2 separate regions of the Homo sapiens genome follow, and region 1 is linked to region 2. The links are contacts of gene promoters, found by promoter capture Hi-C in human tissues and cell types (Jung and others, 2019). All regions are on one chromosome and are shown on one strand. The core of a region is centred on a gene start or on the middle of the fragment in contact, and the rest is flanking DNA. Distances in the headings are between cores, read along the strand shown.

Region 1 (4,960 bases), core at 758-3,257, 200 kb before region 2:
GGTAGTGGCTGGTCATTAATGAGATGCCAAAATGGGGGCGTACAAGGGATCAAGCAGCAAGTGTTCGTGGAGAGTCCACTGTGTGCTCAGCAAAGCGTTAGGACCAGCGTGTGGGAGGAGCTGGTGGGGAGCAAAGCAGTGGGGTTGTGGGTCCATTTGCTCCTCCAGAGGGACACCGAGTGACATCAGTGCCTCTGTAGTGATGAGCAGAGTTGCTACCTCTGTACTCTGGGAGGCAGCTTGGTTTGTGTCTGAAAGCCTTTGTTGGTGGATGAGTGTCCATGTATCTGATCTCCATGACCTCAGAGAATTATCAAGCGCCCAGGGGATCGGAGCCTCCTGCGAAAATAGAAGGACCTAAAGGTACCAGGTGAAAGGGATGGCTGGGAAGTCCCACGGGCAAGTTTTCTTTTCCTTTGTCCTTTGTTTTCTTTCTCTCCCAGATCTGGATCCTATAAAGAATGCTATAGATAGGAAAATAAATAAAAACTCTATCACAGATTTGATTTTTACTCTCATTTATTGGAGTTCAGGCATACAGGACACAGAGAAGGGAAATAAACAGCAATTATATAAGGTTTCTGTCAAAAAATTTTCTCTATTTTTATGGCAATACAACCACCAAAACCCTAAAACTCTTACTCTCTTAAAATGCAGCTCCCTTTGATGGGTGTGTATGGCAAAGGTGACAAGTGATTTTATTTTGATTTTTAAAAACAGACCTGCTAGAACATCTGCCACACTAGGTGTTGAAAAAGTGAGCTGTTTAGGTACCTGACCACTCTTAGTTCCAGTAAATACTTTTAATAATAAAAGTAGCTATTTAAAAATATTTACTCTTGGCTGGGAGAAGTGGCTCATGCCTGTAATCCCAGCACTTTGAGAGGCCAAGGTGGGAGGATTGCTTGAGGCCAGGAGTTTGAGACCAGCCTGGGTAACAAAGTGAGACCCTGTCTCTATAAAAAAATAAAAAATTACCCAGGGTTAGTGATGTGTGTCTGTAGTTCCAGCTACTCAGGAGGCTGAGGCAGGAGGATCACTTGAGCCTGGGAGTTCAAGGTTGAAGTGAGCCATGCTCACGCCACTGCACTCCAGCCTGGGTGACAGAGCGAAACCCTGTCTCAAAAAAAAAAAAAAAAATTACTCTCGTGTCAGGTGCTGTGCATGCTATGCATTGTTTATTTATTCCCCAAATGTTTATTAAGCACCTACTATGTGCCAGGCACTGTGCTATATACCAGTGATTTGAATGTGGGGTCTGGGACATCTGAAAAAATGCTGTTTAAACCAAGCTTGTAGGTTGCAGGTGGGTCATTCCAACCAAGAAACCAGGGTAGTAGAGGATCTTCCCGGCGGACAACACAGCAAGCATGAAGGTTCATTTAATCCTCACAATAACACAGTGGGGCGCTGATTATCCCCCCACTTTACAGAGGAGGAAAGTGAGGCTCAGACATGTTTAATTGTTTGCCCAAGGCCACAAAGCAGCCCAAAGCCGGAGCATCCTCCTTTTGTAGCTTCCCCAGGCCCTGTGTTCATGGCTGGTTGCCTTTTTTCTTTTTTTTTGAGACGGAGTCTTACTCTGTCGCCCAGGCTAGAGTGCAGTGGCATGATCTCGGCTCACTGCAAGCTCCGCCGCCCGGGTTCACACCATTCTCCTGCCTCAGCCTCCCGAGTAGCTGGGACTACAGGCGCCCGCCACTACGCCCGGCTAATTTTATTTGTATGTTTAGTAGAGACGGGGTTTCACCCTGTTAGCCAGGATGGTCTCGATCTCCTGACCTCGTGATCCGCCTGTCTCGGCCTCCCAAAGTGCTGGGATTACAGGCTTGAGCCACCGCGCCCGGCCTGGTTGCCTTTCTTGACCGTAGTTTCAGCGCTGAAAGTCCCACATCCCAGAACCCCGTTCTTCCTGGGCAAACTGGGACTGTTGATTTTCTTAGGTTGGAATGTTTGGCTGAGATCAAGCCAAGGAGGGTAGGAGGGGCGGTTTGAAGCTTTCAGGAGGAGAGAAGTCAGGAGGCTGCTCCTTGTACCCTGTAAAGTCCCCAGGCGGCCATTCCATGATCCCAGGCCACAGCACTCTGGCCTCTGCCAGTTCCCTTTCAGGCCCAATCATATTTGTAGTGTTGTGACACGTCCTTAAGGTCCCAGAGGCTAAAAGCAAGAGCTTCCCTAGTGTGCATAGACTCCACTTGTACATAACAAATGAGGCAGTTTTGCCTGGAGCTTAACATACAGAAGAGAAAACAAAGTGAATCCAGGTACAGTCAGCAGGAAGATATGTAAAGAAGTCATTATAAATTACATATTATGTTTCCACAGTGGGCTGCCTGATGATTCAAAAACATTACTTAAAAATCTTTCCCTTCCCTTTCTTTTCCGTTTCTGTGTATTTTTTATTACCCTTTCTTTTTGCCTTTCTCCCTTCCTTTTATCTTGAACATGAGTCTCTTATGTAACACAGCACCTAGCACATAGTAGGTGCTTAATAAATATTTGTTGAATGAATAAGTGAATGAAACAATTCAGTAGGCACTTCAGAGATGCAATAAATTAGCTTAGAATGTTATCTCCAGTTCAGAAGAACTCCAAGCAGGCAGCAACAACTATTCTTTCTTTGATCAAGAACAGCGTTTGGGAGAATTCAGATCAATTTTAGGGTAGCCGGATCCTCCTATCACAACATTTCTTTCTTGATGAGGTCTGTACACACCCTGCATCTGAATCACTCAAGGTGCTTATTAAATACTTACAGTTCTTAGGCTCATTCCTGGACCTATTGAGTCAGAACAGTGGCAGGGGCAGGGATTTGCATTTCTAATAAGCTCCCGGAGTGTTTCTTGTGCATACCCAAACTGCCCTATATAAGCATAGTTTGTTCACTTTGATCATTTGTGCTGCAATCCTGGGCCTCCCTCCTCCTTTCTGCTAAAAGTTTATTTGTTTCTTCCTTAAAGCCTTGAGAAGAAAAAAAAAAGAGCACATCTCTTTGGGGACGACTTTCAGTTGAAAAGAACTGACAAAAAGTTGAAATGATAGCAATGCAATATAATTTTCTCATTCTCCCTCTGTTCTTGCAGTGTGTTGCATTACTTGGCATAGATGTTTTCTGGGGGGTATAAGCTAATGGAATTTACTCAAGCACTTCAGAAACGAGTGGTGTGTTTTATATTTCTAATAAAGCTTTCCTTTCCTTGTGGTTGCAATGGCCACGAATTTGCTTCACTGGACTTCAGGTTGTTAACCAATGACAAATGACTGCTCTTCTGGGCATCTCATTGGGCGGGCTCTGTTATCCAGTGCAGGTAGGAGGAGTGATAACCCATACTGCTTGCTGGGGAGAATGCTGCATCTGTCCACTTTTTGCTGCAATCTCTCTTTCCTCGTTCCTTGTTCTCTGTACAATTTTTTTCTTTTTTTGAGACAGAGTTTTGTTCTTGTTGCCCAGGCTGGAGTGCAATGGTGCGATCTCAGCTCACTACAACCTCTGCCTCCCGGGTTCAAGCAATTCTCCTGCCTCAGCCTCCAGAGTAGCTGGGATTACAGGCATGCACCTCCATACCTGGCTAATTTTGTATTTTTAGTAGAGATGGGGTTTCTCCATGTTGGTCAGGTTGGTCTCAAACTCCTGACCTCAGGTGATCTGCCCTCCTCAGCCTCCCAAAGTACTGGGATTTCAGGGGTGAGCCACCATGCCCGGCCTCTGTACATTTTAGTTCTTAGGTTAATTTTGGTTCTGTCATCTGAATGCTGTATTTAATTGGAGTTAAAGAAAACACACACACGCATGCACGCACGCAGGCACGCACGTAATCCACCCAGACCAACATTTTCTATTCTTCATTATTCATAAGTAAGATTTATTAGAAAGGTTGATTTGGATGAATTGATGTGTTATAGATCTAGATTCTGTTATGAACATAGGAAACTGTCCCTTTGTAGGTCAAAAAATGGTCCAACGTTGGCAATTTCTTATGTTTCAATCTAATAGAAACCGCATAAATTATCCAGATGTCTATTTTTAAATTGTTATTTTAAATATACAAAATATTAAGACATACAAAAAGGTGTAAAGAATAACATAATGAACACCCATGTACTCACCATCCAGTTTAAGAACTAAGATGCTACTGAAGCAATCACAGCCCTGTCCCCAATCACATGTCCCTCATGCCCCGACCAGAGGTAGCCTGCATTATGAATTTGGTGCTCATTTGTCCCCTACTTGTGTGTGTGTGTGTGTATGTGTGTGTGTGTGTATGTGTATATATATTTTGTTTGTTTGTTTTGTTTTGTTTTTGAGACAGGGTCTCACTCTGTTGCCCAGACTGGAGTGCAGTGGTGTGATCATGGCTCATGGCAGCCTCAAACTCCTGGGCTCATGTGATCCTCCCATCTCAGCCTCCTGAGTAGCTGGGACTGTGTGCCACCACACCCAGCTCACTTTTTTTTCTTCTTCTTCTTCTTCTTCTTCCTCTTCTTCTTCTTCTTCTTCCTCTTCTTCTTCTTCTTCTTCTTCTTCTTCTTCTTCTTCTTTCTTCTTCTTTCTTCTTCGTCGTCTTTGTCTTCCTCTTCCTCTTCCTCTTCCTCTTCCTCTTCTTCTTCTTCTTCTTCTTCTTCTCCTTCTTCTTCTTCTTCTTCTTCTTCTTCTTCTTCTTCTTCTTCTTCTTCTTTTATTTTTTTGTAGAGAAAGGGTCTCACCATGTTGCCCAGGCTGGTCTCGAACTCCTGGGTTCAAGGGATCCTCATGCCTTGGCCTCTCAAAGTGCTGGGATTATAGGCATAAGCCACCATGCCTGACATGTATTTGTATATATATAACCTACTGCATATAGCCTATTGTATTGTCTTGCACATTTCTTTATTTAAATAATAAAGTATACTTATCCTTCTGCAACTAGCTTTTTTCACTCAACATCAAGGTCGAGACTCATTCATGTTGATCTGTGTCCCTCTA
Region 2 (4,750 bases), core at 527-3,026:
GACTGGGCCACATGCAGAAACCCCATCTCTACAAAAAATACAAAAATTAGCCAGGCATGGTGGCATGTACCTGTAGTCCCAGCTACTTGGGAGGCTGAGGTGGGAGGATCACCTGAGCCCAGGAGGTCAAGGCTGCAGTGAGCTAAGATTGTGCCACTGCACCCCAGCCTGGGCAACAGAGTGAGACCCTGTCTCAACAAAATAAATAAATATATTTTGAATTAAATTAAAATGAAAAAACAGCCTATCAAAAAGTGTGGGATGTAGTGAAAGTAGTGTTTAGAGGGAAAGTTATAGCATTGAATGCATATATTAGGAGAAGAAAGATCTAACTCAGAGAGGGATGAACAGGTGAGGCATAGGGGATTTTAAGGTAGTGAAACTCTTGCAGGGCAGGGGAGCCCCAAAACTGGGACACCGTCCGGGAAGGCTCTTGGCTTCGTCCAGGAAGGAATTCAAGGGTGAGCTAGAGGAGGAAGAAAAAGGTTTATTGAGGCAGCAGGGTTACAGTTCTGTGACTGTCCCTGCAGAGCAGGGCCACCCCATAGGCAGTGCCTGGAGAGCAGCAGCTCAGGGCACTTCTATAGTCACATTCATACCCACTTTTAAATACGTGCAAATTAAGGGCAGGTTATTCAGAAATTTCTAGAAGAAGGGTGGTAACTGGGTCATTGCCAGGGAATGAGTAAACTGTTCATGGTGCTGGTGCTCATGCCAGCCAGTCTTCAATCTGGCCCTGAGTCAAGCCCCACCTCCTATCTCAAAACTATTCTGCATGGTGCTGTAATGGTGGATACATGACATGTTATGTTTGGCAAAATCCATAGAACTGTAGGACACAAGAGTGAACCTTAATGTAAACCTTAATGTAAATGGACTTTTGTTAATTATGATGTATTAATATCAATTCATCAATTGTAACAAATGTATCACAGTACTGTTAATAATAGAGGAACTTATTGGCAGGAGAGAGAGCTTATGGAACTCTCTGCACATTCAGCTCAATATTTCTGTAAGCCTAAAACTGCTGTGAGAAATAAAATCCAACCTGGGCAACATAGCAAGACCTTGTCTCTACAAAAAATAAAAAATGAGCTGGGTGCAGTAACGCATGCCTGTAGTCCCAGGTATTCAGGAGGCTGGGGCAGGAGGATCCCTTGAACCCAGGAAGTTGAGGTTGCACGAGTCATGATCATGCCCCTGCACTCCAGCCTGGATAACAAAGCAAGATCCTGTCTCCAAAAAATAATAAAATAAAATAAAAATCTACTAATTGAAAGGGAAAAAAGCATAGTATAATACCATTCTTAACAAAAAGAAAAGAGACCTGTGTTTGTGTGTGTGTTAACATTTGAAAAAAATCTGGAAAGCTCTATATCAAAACGTTTATAGAGGCAATTTTGTAGTGTTAGAATCATAGATGATCTTTCCACTTCCTGGTTTTTCTGACTTTTTTTCTTTTTGCAGTGGGCATGTATTGCTGGAAAATACCACAGACAACTGTGAAAGGATTTCATCAACAACAAAAAAAAGATAAAGAAGGAAACACAAAATCTGTTAAATAAGATTTATGTTGGCTGGAGGTTAAAATGCATTTCCAGAGCAGAGTTCAGAGAAAGGCTGGGCTGCTTGTTGCTGGCTAAAGGACAAAGGGTAAGTTTCAGGAAGCAGAAGAGTGAGCAGATGAAATTCAGCACTGGGATCAGGGGAGTGTCTGATTTGCAAAAGGAAAGTGCAAAGACAGCTCCTCCCTTCTGAGGAAACGAAACCAACAGCAGTCCAAGCTCAGTCAGCAGAAGAGATAAAAGCAAACAGGTCTGGGAGGCAGTTCTGTTGCCACTCTCTCTCCTGTCAATGATGGATCTCAGAAATACCCCAGCCAAATCTCTGGACAAGTTCATTGAAGACTATCTCTTGCCAGACACGTGTTTCCGCATGCAAATCAACCATGCCATTGACATCATCTGTGGGTTCCTGAAGGAAAGGTGCTTCCGAGGTAGCTCCTACCCTGTGTGTGTGTCCAAGGTGGTAAAGGTGAGTCCAGGCCTGCCTGGCCAGGGGAGGGGTGGCTGAATGTGCAAGAGTTGAGATTGAGAATGAGAGAGAGAGAGAGAGAGAAGCAAAAACCTAGAACCCAGGGTGCAAATGTGAGTACAGAGAGCTGAGATCTTCTGGGATGGTGGTTTCTTATTTATCCACACAGCATGTTAAAATAGATTCTGGGGTGAAATCCTACATCCCTATTATTAACAAGTGACCCTCCCCCCTACTTCCCGCTGAAGTTTATGAACCACTGTCCTGGGCGATGCCCATTTCAGAAATAGGGAACTGAATCCCAGCTCTGGTAAACAGTTTGCTAATTCGTGGCCAGGCTAGGGGCTCACCATTTCTGCAGTGAAGAATCATATGTTTTGAAAGCAAATAGCACCTGCTGGCTGCAAGACCTTGAGCAAGTCACTTAACTACTCTGTGTTCCAATTTCCTCAGCCATAATCCCCAATACTGTTGCAGTCTTGCCAGTGCACCTTAATGTAGCAGCTTCTCACTGAATTAGTACCCAAGGTTCTTTGTCCTGCATCCAAGAAAATTAAGGAACATGGACACAAACGTGAGCTTGGAGCAAAAGTTCAGTAAGCAAAAGAAGAAAGCTGTCTCCACTGTGGAGAGGGAAGTCTGAGTGGATTGCCAGATTGCAGCTGAATGCAAAAAACTTTTATAAGAAACCACTCTCCTCCCTGTAACTGTTTGAGAAACTTTTTATCAGTAAAGCTGTGCAACTTCCCTTACCTTATGCAGCTGTGGGTATATCTCTAGGCAAGCATAAAGCGCTGCTTCTCTTGTATGTATAACTGTGGATTTGTTTTAGGTAAGTCCCACTCCCTGCGCCAGTTTCAGGCAGGCCGCTCCTCCAGGGCCCAGCCTTGACCATTTACCTAACTGATTTTTCCTCTACTTTCCCTCAATACCTCATAGGGCCGTGTAGATTAAGTAAAATAGTAAGTGTGAACCACCCAGCATAAGCTAGTCCTGGGCATCGTAAAGGACAATGGGAAAAGAACACAGATCCTGGAAGAAGGCCCCCAGGTTTGAATTGTATTTGCCACCTACTAGCTGGGTGATGGGGCTGATATATTATCTCACTGAGCATCCATTTTCCCATCTGTAAAATGGGAACTAATGATAATGGCATCCAAATCATAGCATCATTGTGAGCATTATAGGAGTTTAAGACATGCAATGCCTTCAGAACAGTGGCTAGTGCTCCATAATGTTAGTGATTGCTCCTGTCATTTTATTTAGGGAGGTTTGCCTCACTAAGCATCAATTATTATTTTTGTCGTCTTTTTCAGGGTGGCTCCTCAGGCAAGGGCACCACCCTCAGAGGCCGATCTGACGCTGACCTGGTTGTCTTCCTCAGTCCTCTCACCACTTTTCAGGATCAGTTAAATCGCCGGGGAGAGTTCATCCAGGAAATTAGGAGACAGCTGGAAGCCTGTCAAAGAGAGAGAGCATTTTCCGTGAAGTTTGAGGTCCAGGCTCCACGCTGGGGCAACCCCCGTGCGCTCAGCTTCGTACTGAGTTCGCTCCAGCTCGGGGAGGGGGTGGAGTTCGATGTGCTGCCTGCCTTTGATGCCCTGGGTGAGAGCTCCCAGCTTCTTTTTCTCCCTCTTCCCATTTCTGAGCAGAAATCTCCCACAGTTTGAGAGCTTTTTGCCCCAACAGGGCATCTCTCTAAAGCAGGGTGGGAGGAGATCTTAGGATCTGTCCCGGGGCAAGAATGAATACGGTCATGATCTATCACAGGAGAGACATTAAACAGCAAATTGGCATAATGTGGGGACAAAGACATTTCTTACAGAACATCTGCAAGGCTTACTGGTTCTGTTTAAGGCAAAATGTGTGAATTTTATCTTTCTAAAATCAGGCAGCAAAGATGTGGCTTAAAGTTCATGTTACTCTCATCTTTGTCCCAACATGAGATCTCATCAAACGTATGCAGCACGTTGGGAGATAGATATTTATAATTTGCAGGAACATTTGGACAGGAAGTGTAACCTCTCAGAGGCTCCCTTGCCACATCAGGAGAATTGGTAAAACCACACTACCTGTATCATATCATTATTTTAAGTGATAAATGATCATCTACATTCAGCTCTGATGAGTAATAGGTGTTCAAAAATAGGAACTTCCAGCCAAGTGTGGTGGCTCATGCTTGTAATTCCAACACTTTTGGAGGCTGAGGCAGGAGGGTCGCTTGAGCCCAGGAGTTCAAGACCAGCCTGGGCAGCAAAGTGAAACCTCATCTCTACTAAAAATTTTAAAACATTAGCCAAGTGTGGTGGTACATGCCTGTGGTCGCAGTTATTCAGGACGCTGAGACTGAACGATCACATGAGGCCAGCCAAGGATTCGAGGTGTCAGTGAGCCACGAATGTACCACTGCACTCCATCCTAGGCACAGAGCAAGAGCAAGACCCTGTCTCAATCAATCAGTCAATCAGTCAAAACTATGAATTTCCCAGCTGTATATGAAGGCACCTCAAAACACCACAGTGAACTCACAGAGGGACACGGAATAGTTTAGATTTTAATTTTTTGAGGGAAATGCGATGACATCTGTCACACACCGCACAAACGGCTACTATTAAACTGAACTTACTGATTAGTGGCTACTAATTAATAGTTGGTCATTAAGCAGTAATTAGTGATTAATTATCAAGTAATTAGGACTTAATTAAAGGAACTGTCA

Evidence for each region. The method cuts DNA at HindIII sites, captures the fragments that hold promoters and counts their contacts. A contact is called where the count stands out against the background at its distance.
Region 1: a contact is called between a fragment that was not itself captured here and the fragment with the promoter of OAS1 in region 2, in 4 of the 25 tissues and cell types used here (heart left ventricle, liver, mesendoderm cells and 1 more).

What each region holds. Positions count from the first base shown.
Region 1 is chr12:112,708,427-112,713,386 of GRCh38, forward strand. It overlaps a transcript of RPH3A not described here. Among named protein-coding and RNA genes, the nearest start is that of MIR1302-1, 16 kb to the left of the region's middle. RefSeq lists an enhancer at 1,738-2,238. The HindIII fragment of the contact is 4,247 bases long and covers 1-4,131 here.
Region 2 is chr12:112,905,186-112,909,935 of GRCh38, forward strand. OAS1 (2'-5'-oligoadenylate synthetase 1) reads left to right here and starts at 1,777. Exons shown (of 6, transcript NM_016816.4): 1 at 1,777-2,034; 2 at 3,351-3,639. The coding sequence starts at 1,855. RefSeq lists an enhancer at 1,618-2,057. The HindIII fragment of the contact is 21,386 bases long and covers 1-4,750 here.